2 separate regions of the Homo sapiens genome follow, and region 2 is linked to region 1. The links are contacts of gene promoters, found by promoter capture Hi-C in blood cells and fetal thymus (Javierre and others, 2016). All regions are on one chromosome and are shown on one strand. The core of a region is centred on a gene start or on the middle of the fragment in contact, and the rest is flanking DNA. Distances in the headings are between cores, read along the strand shown.

The links. The method cuts DNA at HindIII sites, captures the fragments that hold promoters and counts their contacts. A CHiCAGO score of 5 or more calls a contact.
Region 2: a contact is called between a fragment that was not itself captured here and the fragment with the promoter of TUBB4A in region 1, in 1 of 17 cell types (activated CD4 T cells). The highest score is 5.4, in activated CD4 T cells.

The regions. Positions count from the first base shown.
Region 1 is chr19:6,498,976-6,504,302 of GRCh38, forward strand. It overlaps TUBB4A (tubulin beta 4A class IVa), which reads right to left and starts at 3,334. Exons shown (of 4, transcript NM_006087.4): 1 at 3,181-3,334; 2 at 2,540-2,648; 3 at 2,312-2,422. The coding sequence starts at 3,237. RefSeq lists silencers at 2,851-2,960, 3,131-3,310, 3,321-3,590. The HindIII fragment of the contact is 23,046 bases long and covers 814-5,327 here.
Region 2 is chr19:6,887,987-6,893,313 of GRCh38, forward strand. It overlaps ADGRE1 (adhesion G protein-coupled receptor E1), which reads left to right. Exons shown (of 21, transcript NM_001974.5): 2 at 2,495-2,557. Among named protein-coding and RNA genes, the nearest start is that of ADGRE1, 3.1 kb to the left of the region's middle. The HindIII fragment of the contact is 483 bases long and covers 1,839-2,321 here.

The DNA of each region.
Region 1 (5,327 bases), core at 2,084-4,583:
TGGGCCAAGAGATTCTATGGCCTCTGGGTGGCCAGGGGGTGGGAGGAGCATTAAAAGTGTGGGCTCAGACCAGGCGCGGTTGCTCATGCCTGTAATCCCAGCACTTTGGGAAGCAGAGGCAGGCAGATCACCTGAGAGGTCAGGAATAGGAGACCAGCCTGGCCAACATGGCGAAACCCCGTCACTATTAAAAATACAAAAAATTAGCTAGGTGTGGTGATGCATGCCTGTAGTCCCAGCTACTCGTGAGGCAGGAGAATCGCTTGAATCTGGGAGGTGGAGGTTGCGTCACTGCACTCCAGCCTGGGCAACGGAGACTCCGTCTCAAAAAAAAAAAAAAGCGTGGACCTAGTAGTCAGACCCTCTCCTCTGGCTCCTGACAGCCCCAGTGGCTTGCAGTGTGACTTTCTGCAAGTGACCTAACGTCTCTGTGCCTCTGTTTTCTCACCTGTAAAATGGAAGTAAGAGGCGAGTTGCGGAAAAGATTCAGAGAGGCAGGACAGGTCCTGCATTTAGCACGTCTTACATGCTGGGAGTATTGGAGGCGGGTGGAGCCAGGGTGGGGACATGCAGCCAGCTGGAGCCAGGAAAGCTTTCCCGGAAGGATTGTCCCAGGGTGTGGACACCCCACTATCTTCACATATGCTGTTGCCTCCGTCTTAAACATCTTTCCTCCCTTCCATGCCCTTTGGCCAGTCCAAATCCTACTCACATTCTAGACTGCAGATAGTAATGAAAACAACGACAAATGCTTATTTACCTCTTTCTCTGTGTCAGGCATTGTTCTAAACTCTACACATATTCATGACTTTAAGCTTCACAATTTTTTTTTTTTTTTGGAGACGAAGTTTCACTCTTGTTGCCCACGCTGGGGTGCAGTGTCATGATCTTGGCTCACCACAACCTCTGCCGTTCAAGCAATTCTCTTGCCTCAGCCTCCCGAGTAGCTGGGATTACAGGCATGTGCCACCATGCCTGGCTAATTTTTTATTTTTAGTAGAGATGGGGTTTCTCCATGTTAGTCAGGCTGGTCTCAAACTCCCGACCTCAGGTGATCCACCCGCCTCGGCCTCCCAAAGTGCTGGGATTACAGGTGTGAGCCACCGTGCCCACCCTGAGCCTCACAATTCTAATAGCATTTTAGAATCCCTGTTTTATTTGATCTTTTTTAGAGATGGGGTCTCACACCATCGCTCAGGCTGGAGTGCAGTGGCACCATCATAGCTCATGGCAGCCTCAACCTCCCAGGCTCAAGTGATTCTCCTACCTTAGCCTCACGAGTAGCTGTGACTACAGGTGCACACCACCTCACTCAGCTAATTAAAATTTTTTTCTTTTTGTAGAGACAGGGTCTCACCATGGTGCCCAGGCTGGTCTCGAACTCCTGACCTCAAGCTCTCTTCCTGACTCAGCCTCCCAAAGTCCTGGGTTTATAGGCATGAACCACCATGCCCAGTGAAATCCCTGTTTTAAAGACGAGGAGGCCGGGCAAGGTGGCTCATGCTTGTAATCCAGCACTTTGGGAGCTGAGTTGGGTGGATCGTTTGAGTCCCGGAGTTTGAGACCAGCATGGGCAACATAGAGAGACCCACCTCTCTACAAAGAAAACTAAAAAATTAGCTGGGTGTGGTGGTGCATGCCTGTAGGTCCAGCTACTTGGGAGACTGAGGCAAGAGGATCACGTGTGCCCAGAGGTGGAGGTGACAGTGAGCCGTGATCATGCCACTGCACTCTAGCCTGGGTGACAGCAGGACAGACAGACCCTGTCTGAAAAAAAAAAAAAAAAGAGGATTTTTGAGGCCCAGAAAGGCTGAGGAGCCCATCCTAAGTTATCCATCTGAATCAACCCCTGGCAGAGCTTTACTTATTTATCTCCTTTGTGGCCTATCACCTTCTACCAGAATGGGAGCTGCACTGGGGCAGAGAGGGAGCTCCGGCTGTTTGATTCTTACCTGGATCTCCAGCTTCTAGAACAGGGCCTGGTATGCAGTGAGTGCTCACTGTTTGTTGAATGCATGAAGTGGCAGAATTGGGATGTGCACCCAGGCAGTCTGGTTCCGGTTCAGACCGTTGAATTAAAATGCCACCTCCTCCAGGAAGACTTCCCTGAATCCTTCTCTGTATCCGCCCTCCTCAGGGCTCTCACAGTGGCCTGAGCATCCCCTCATCACAGCCCTGGATGCAGGGCTGGTGCCTGGTGCCCTGTCCACCCCATCTCTGGTCTGTGGGCCCCGGTGGTGGCTGTTGACTCTGTGGTGTTAGCAGGAATAAGGAGGTTTTCCAGCCTCTGGCTCCCTGCTGGGGGACTCACCAAACACGAAGTTGTCCGGCCGAAAGATCTGACCGAAGGGGCCAGAACGGACAGAGTCCATGGTGCCGGGTTCCAGGTCCACCAGCACCGCTCTGGGGACATAATTTCCTCCTGCAGGGAAACAGATGGAGGGCAGTTCGATGCGTGCCAGGAACCACAGGCGCCCGGTAGCATCCTGTTCCCTCCCAGCTGCCCCTTCCCACCTGGAAGGTGCCTCCTTCGCCCTACCTGTGGCCTCGTTGTAGTACACGTTGATCCTCTCCAGTTGCAGGTCACTGTCCCCATGGTATGTGCCTGTGGGGTCGATGCCATGTTCGTCACTGATAACCTCCCAAAACTAGAGAGAGAGGTGGTCGGAAGAGTTGAGAGAGGGGAAGCCGGTGGCCAAGCCGAGGACTGCCCCCAGCCCCCAACTAGCTCCCTAGCTGCCACCTCTCCCCCAGCAAGGTGAACGGGGGACCTAGAGGCATGGTGTCGGGGCGAGGATGAGGCAGCAAGAAGGAGCGGTGGGGGCGGGGTGCAGCCGAGTCAGCACCCAGCGGGGCCGGCTGGTGCCAGCGCACCCAGGCTGCAGCCCGGGGGAGGCACCGGGGCTCTTTGTGCGTGAGGAGGGGACAGTGGCCCAGCTGTGGGCCCAGCTGTGACAGGCGGACAGAAGGCTGGCTCCCACTCTCCGCAGCCTCTTTGTTCCCAGTCTGGCCCTGCCACCCCCACCCCGCGACCCTTCCCCCAAGGCCCCTGGGGCGCGCTGGCCTCCTGGGGACCTCATTCCTTTCCAAAGACTCCCAGGTTGCGGGGTGCTCCGGGGACCGACCCCGCGGTGCTCCCCGGGGCCGCCACTGCCTCCCCGGGCCCCGTTCCCCGAGCACCTTGGCCCCGATCTGGTTGCCGCACTGGCCGGCCTGCAGGTGCACGATCTCCCGCATGGCGGTGGCGCTGAGGGTGGACGCGGCGGCGGTGGCACGAGCGCGGGGAGCTGCGGCGGCGGCGAGGGTGGAAGATGCGGCGGAGACGGCGGAGCACGGTCCCTGCGCCCCCGGGAGCCGCTATATGAGCGGGCGGGGCACGCGTCACGGCCGGTCACCCTCCCGCTCCGCCCCTTGGTCCCGCCCCGGGATGATGGAGGGGGCTGGGGTGGGGGGAGGTGGTGCAGGGACCTCCCTCCCCAGGGGGCCTCCCAGAGAAGTCCGGGACGCCACGTGCTCCGACCCCTGCCTTGGGGGTGAGGCCCCTTAGGGAGCCACCAGTGCAGTCTCCCCCGTCCCAGCCCCCAGCCAGGCTTGGCCACCCGCAGAAATTGGGCGGAGGAAGGGAGGGGAGCGCCTGGTAAACAGGCATCTGAGAAGTCCTGCCCCTCCCCCTTAGCCTCCACCCTCCCGCCCCAGGCCTTGCCTCAGTTTCTCGGTCCGCAGCCCCCCTTCTCATTCTATTTAGACCTCATTCGCCAGAATCCTTGCAGTAACCGCGAGCCCTCCCAGTGGGCTGGGGGCTCCGGAGCGGCGATCTGGTTTGCGGGTGGGGGGCGGTAGGTTCCTGGAGGGCTTGTCCTGAAGCTGCATAGTAAAACCACGATTTTCCTCCCATGATTGGGTGCAGATGCTGGTGGGCTCCCCTGGTACACCTCTACTGGGCATTGAGCTCGTCCCAGGTGGGGTCACCCCCAGCCTGGCCTAAGGAGGAGAGTGGAGGAGTAAGACAGCTGGGTTCATATTGGGAGGGGGACAGTGAGTCCCCAGGGCTGCCTCGCTTTCCCAAAATAACACCCCTCCTCTCCAGTATTGTAATTTATCTTTATCTATATCTATACCCTTTTTTTTTTTTTTTTGAGACAGAGTTTCGCTCTTGGCGCCCAGGCTGGAGTGCAATGGCCCAATCTCGGCTCACTACAACCTCAGCCTCCCAGGTCCAAGCGATTCTCCTGCCTCAGCCTCCCGAGTAGCTGGGATTACAGGCATGTGCCACCACGCCCGGCTAATTTTTTTGTATTTTTAGTAGAGACAAAGTTTCTCCATGTTGTTCAGGCTGGTCTCAGACTCCTGACCTCAGGCCATCTGCCCACCTCTGCCTCCCAAAGTGCTGGGATTACAGGCGTGAGCCAACGCGCCCGGCCTATATATATATATTTTCGGACAGGGTCTTGCTCTGTCCCTCAGGCTGTAGTGCAGTGGCATGCTCATAGCTCACTGCAGCCTCAATGTCCTGGGCTCAAGCAATCCTCTCACCTCAGCCTCCCAAGTAGCTGGGACTGCAGGTGCATGCCATCACGCCTGGCTAATTTTCAAGATTTTTTGTAGAGATGGGGTCTCGCTATGTTGTCCAGGCTGCTCTCCAACTCCTGAGCTCAAGAGATCCTCCTGCCTCAGCCTCCCAAAGTGCTGGGATTCCAGGCATGAGCCACTGCGCCCAGCTCAGTATTATAATTTATTACCCACCATCTCCCTTGCCTCTGCATTTCCTGTAGCATTAGGTGTATGACCTTGCCCTGGTGCTCCTCTCTGTGTCTGAATTTCACATTTGCAAGTTGGGGTGGTGAGGAAGGCCCACCCTCCAGGGTCTGATTATGCGATGACCCAGTTAACAAGGTGGCGATAGTCTCCCCTCCTGCAGAGTCAACAATAAATTGTATCTTTCTCGAGTCTAAGTATTATCAGAGGCTGGACTGGACTTCCTGTGCTGCCCCTCATGTGAAGGTCAAGCCTCCTGGGGCTGCTTCCTTGGACAGCCTCCAGTCCCGCCCTCCCAGGAAGTCTCCTCCTCGCCTCCCATCCTTGACTTTCCCACTCAAGGACTTTGGTGTATTGCTGGTGGGAGGTGGGGTAAGCCATCTTGGCCATGTGGTTGGGACCTCACATTTGCCATGGCCACTAATTTTTTTTTTTTTTTTTTTTTTTTGACAGAGTCTTGCTCTGTCACCCAGGCTGGAGTGCAGTGGTGCCATCTCGGCTCACTGCAACCTCTGCCTCCTGGGTTCAAGCCATTCTCCTGGCTCAGCCGCCCCAGTAGCTGAGATTACAGG
Region 2 (5,327 bases), core at 830-3,329, 390 kb after region 1:
TCATAGCCCACTTAGCACTGCTGTAACTTCTTTAAACATAGAGTGTATCCAATTGTCACAACATTTCTATGACATTGGGTCATTATTAGTCCTATTTTGCAAATGAGAAAACTGAGGCAAAAGAGATAAAATAATTTTCCCAAGGCCACTTAGTCAATAAGGGGTAGAGGCAGGATTTCAAGCCAGACAGTCTGACTTCAGAGTCTGTAAGCTTTTCCACTATACTATGTTGCCCCAAAAAATAAGTAAACATAGGAATTTCAGGTAGTGATAAGTGCTATGAAAGAAGTTGTTATAGAATGTGGTCGGGAGTTATGTTGAAGGGAGAAGTCTGGGGTTGAGGAGGGGCAGTTCGAGCTGAGTCCTGAAGGATGAGATAGACCCTTCCTGTGCTCTTATTTCTCTTTCTTCAGGTGTCAGTTTGTCTCAGCCTTGTTTATCTTCTGTGTTTCTGGTTTTTCTTCTATGTCTTGTGTGTTTTGGTCATTGGATCAAATTTAAGAATGGAGGATATTGGGGACATATTCTAAGTAGCAAGTATGGGTTTCCTCTGCTGTTGAAGAGTGGATCTGAATACCCTATTTTACCAAGGAGGAAACTGAGGCACAAAGAGATTAAATAACTTCCTCAAGGCCACGCAATCATTAATTGGTGAAGCCAGATTTTTAAACCTAAGCACTTTGACTTCAGACTTTGTATGCCTAAACAGCATGCTGAATTACCTCTAAAATAATTAATGAATGAGTAGAAGAATTTTTGTTAGTAATAATAGATAGAATTTGGGAGTTTAGATCTGTGGGACTTGTTGACTGGCAGGCTACATTAGAAGAAATAGGTGGCCTGTGGACATCAAATGTAGGCATGCAGAGTTGTTATTTTGGGGTGTTGGCAATGGTATTAACCATTAACACTCCCTATTCTGCCCTGAAGATAATCAGCAAAGAGTTGTGATAATGATAGTGATGATAATGATCATGATGGTGGTGGTTATAATAGTGATGATGAAAATGGTGATGATGATGGTGATGGTGATGATGATGATGATGATAATGGTGATGATAGTGATAATGAAGATGATGGTGATGATGATGGTGTGATAATGACCATGAAGATGGTGATGATGGTGATGATGATAATGGTGATGATAGGGATAATGATGATGATGGTGGTGATGATGGTGTGATAATGACGATGAAGATGGTGATGTTGGTGATTATGGTGGTGATGATGATGATGGTGGTGATGGTGATAATGGTGATGGTGATGATGATAATGGTGATGATGGTGATAATAATGATGATGATGATGGTGATGATGAAGATGATGATGGTGATGATGATAGTGATAATGATGGCGATAATGATGATGGTGCAGGAGACCTAAATGCTGCAGGGCTGCATTGCCTTTAAACACTAAAAAATGGGCAGGGCGCAGTGGCTCACGCTTGTAATCCCAGCACTTTAGGAGGCTGAGGCAGGCAGATCATGAGGTCAGGAGATCGAGACCATCCTGGCCAACATGGAGAAACCCCGTTTCTACTAAAAATGCAAAAATTAGCTGGGCGTGGTGGTGCGTGCTTGTAATCCCAGCTACTCGGGAGGCTGAGGCAGGAGAATAGCTTGAACCAGGGAGTTGGTGGTTGCAGTGAGCCTAGATCACGCTACTGCACTCCAGCCTGGTGACAGAGTGAGACTCCATCTCAAAAAAAAAAAAAAAAAAAAAAAGGAAAGAAAAACGAATTGCCCTACCCTCTCATGAAATGTTAATACTACAGATATACTGTATACCTATATATGTATTTTCTATATATACATATGTATCTTATACATAAAAGAGTAAGCTTAAAAAGATCTCTTCCTGAGAACCAAGTTTGGGTCCTTAGAGGATATATCACCCCTTTTGAGAATGCATGCTTTAATGTATGTTTTTGAAAATCAGCTAGAACTTTTTTTTTTAGACAGGGTCACCTAGGCTGGAGCGCAGTGGCATGATCTTGGCTCACTGCAGTCTCTATCTCCTGGGCTCAAGCAATCCTTCCACCTCAGCCTCCTGAGTAGCTGGGGCTACAAGTTGTCACCACCACCCAGCTAATTTAAAAAATTTTTTTTTTGTAGAGACAAAGTCTCACTGTGTTGTCCAGGCCGGTGTCAAACTGCTGGTCTCAAGTGATCCTCCCACCTTGGCCTCCCGAAGGGCTGGGATTATAGGTGTGCACCACAGTGCTTAGCCTGGAACTATTTAATCAAAAAGAAAAAGAAGATAAAGACAGACAAAATGAAAAGCAAAAGCAAAGTACAGAAAACCAGGAATGGTCATTGTTAAGCTTATGCAAAATAGTGTATGTTTGTTCCTTAACTAGGTTTGTCATCTAGCCTCTTCAAACCTATTTCTGTGGGGCCAAGCCAGGAGTAATTTTGCAGGTTGAGCCCAAAAGGTTTTTTTTTTTTTTTTTTTTTTTGGTGGTTCATGGTGTTTTTCTTTTCTTTCTTCACAGGATGTTGTGTTATGCACAGCTGGGAAGGGCACATAAGACCCACACGGAAACCAAACACAAAGGGTAAGTTGGCCAGAGAGAATGCAGATGCCTGAAGGGGTAGAGAAAGTTTTCTCCCCGGGGAAACATCCCAGGAAGCTGAGCCTCATCCAGATGCTTGCTGGGAGCTAGTTAGCGGCAGAGCAAGGGTTAACATGCAAGTCTCCTGATTCTCACTTCAGGCTCTTTCCTTTGTGCTTAGAATTGCTGTGTGATCTCAGATAAGTCACATAACCTCTCTGAACTTCAGTTTCCCAAGCTGTGAAATACAGATAACAATAGGGATGTTGTGAAACTTTAATTCAAAGAGGTAGCTTTGGAAACCACCTGGTATGTAGTATGAGCTTTATAAATGGTAGTGTAGTGAGAGTAGGGATGGAATTTACTCAAACTACAACTCAATGTGCAAAAAAAAAGTGACTTCTTTATGTTTTGTTAAATACTCTCATCTACATAAACTCTTGCTGGATAAAGGAAGAAAGACATTGTCAGTTCGTAGTTGTTGATATGGTTTGGCTATGTCCTCACCCAAATCTCACCTTAAATTGTAAGAATCCCCACGTGTCAAGGGCGGGGCCAGTTGGAGATAATTGAATCATGGGGGATGGTTTCCCCCATACTGTTCTCGTGGTAGTGAGTAAGTCTCACGAGATCTGATGGTTTTATAAATGGGAGATCCCCGCACAAGCTCTCTTGCCTCCTGCCATGTAAGTAAGACATAATTTTGCTCCTCATGATTGTGAAGCCTCCCCAGCCATGTGCAACAGTGAGTCAAATTAAACCTCGTTCCCTTATAAATTACCTAGTCTCGGGTATGTCTTTATTAGCAGCATGAAAACAGACTAATACAACTGTTCCCAGTGTCTCTGTTTCCTGGTTCTTCTTTGGGCAACTTAGCAACTTGGTCTATATTGTGTTAACAGCTCATCTTTCACATTTTTTTTTTTTTTTTGAGATAGATTCTCGCTCTGTTGCCCAGGCTGGAGTGCAGTGGTGCGATCTCGGTTCACTGCAAGCTCCGCCTTCCAGGTTCACGCCATTCTCCTGCCTCAGCCTCCCGAGTAGCTGGGACTACAGGCGCCCGCCACCACGCCTGGCTAATTTTTTTGTATTTTTAGTAGAGACGGGGTTTCACTAGAAACCAGGCTGGTCTTGAACTCCTTAGGTGATCTGCTCACCCCAGCCTTCCGAAGTGCTGGGATTACAGGCATGAGCCACTGCGCCTGGCCCCTTTGTAGGACTTTTTCAAAAGGGCTTTATTGAGATGGTTGGGAAAATTTTCTCAAGGAAGTGATGTTCCAGTGGACTTAAAGGATGGATGAATTGATGTTACCCAGGCAAAGGGGCAGGGTGGGATAGGGCATGTCTGGTGGCCAGAACGGTGGGTGCAAAGGTCCTGAGGTTGGAAAGAATTTGGAGGACCGAGCGAAGGTGAGTGTGACTGATGACACAGGGCAGGAGATGAGATGGGGAGGTGGACAGGTACCTAGTCCCACAAGACCGGGTTGTTACTCTGACCTTGGTGGGTTTCAGTTGTGAGGGAGAGGGCTAGTGGAAGAGAATGATGGGAAACTTACAGCATTAAGAGACCACAAGTGATAAAATGCCGGAAGTCTGCATAGAGAAATGTTGCCTCTACAGATGAAAGAGGAAGCTGGAAATGAGAAGAGAGATACCATCTGAGGCCTCATGCAGGGAAGGGAAATAAACAAGGCACATTATAGGAGCAAAGAACGTAGATCTCAAAACCAAATGTGTAACAAAAACAGGGTGAATAATGTCACAATCACGATAATCCATTCCTTCTGTTTTTATGATACTTTTTAGTTTTTCCATACTCCTAATTGATGTTGGCATTATCGTTGGTTCCTCTCTTTTCACTCCTCACATCCAATCCATCGGCAAATTTTGTTAGTGTTGCTTTAAAAAAATCCTGAATTGCATTCCCTTCATTGATTCCCTCTGGGTTGTATCTACTGACATCTTTCACCTGGACAAGTGCAGTCACCCCCTCCTTGGTCAGTTTATTTCTGATCTTCTATAGTTCGTCTTCCAACCAGTGGCCAGAAGGCTCATGTTAAAACCTTATGTTGTGTCCCTACTCTGCTCGAAATCCTCCCATGACTCCCATCTTTCTTTGATAAAAAACCCAACTCCACTATTCACAATAGTCAAGATATGGAATCCACCTCAGTGTCCGTCAACAGATGAATGGTTGAACTCAATGTGGTCTGCATACACAACGGATTGCTATTCGGCCATAAAAAGAATGACATTCCACAATTTGCAGCAACATGGATGAAACTGGAGGTCATTAAGTGAAACAAACCAGGCACAGAAAGACAAATGTCACATGTCCTGACTCATAGGTAGTTGCCCTACTGTGCTACTGAGCACTCGATCTCATTCCTTCCATCTAACTGTGGTTTTTGTACCAACCAGTCAATCCCTCTTTATCCCCCTTCCCCACTATCCTTTCCAGCCTCTGGTAATTGTCATTCTGCTCTCTACCTCCATTAGATAATGATGATGATGATTTTTAGCTCCCACGTAGGAACGAGAACATGCAATATTTGTCTTTCTGTGTCTGGTTTATTTCACTTAACATAATGTCCTCCAGTCCTCCAGTTCCATCCATGTTTCTGCAAAGGATGGGATTTCATTCTTTCTTTCTTTTTTTATTTTTTATTTTTTTGAGACGGAGTTTTGCTCTTGTTGCCCAGGCTGGAGTGCAATGGCGCAATCTTGGGTCACCACAACCTCCGCCTCCCCAGTTCAAGTGATTCTCCTGCCT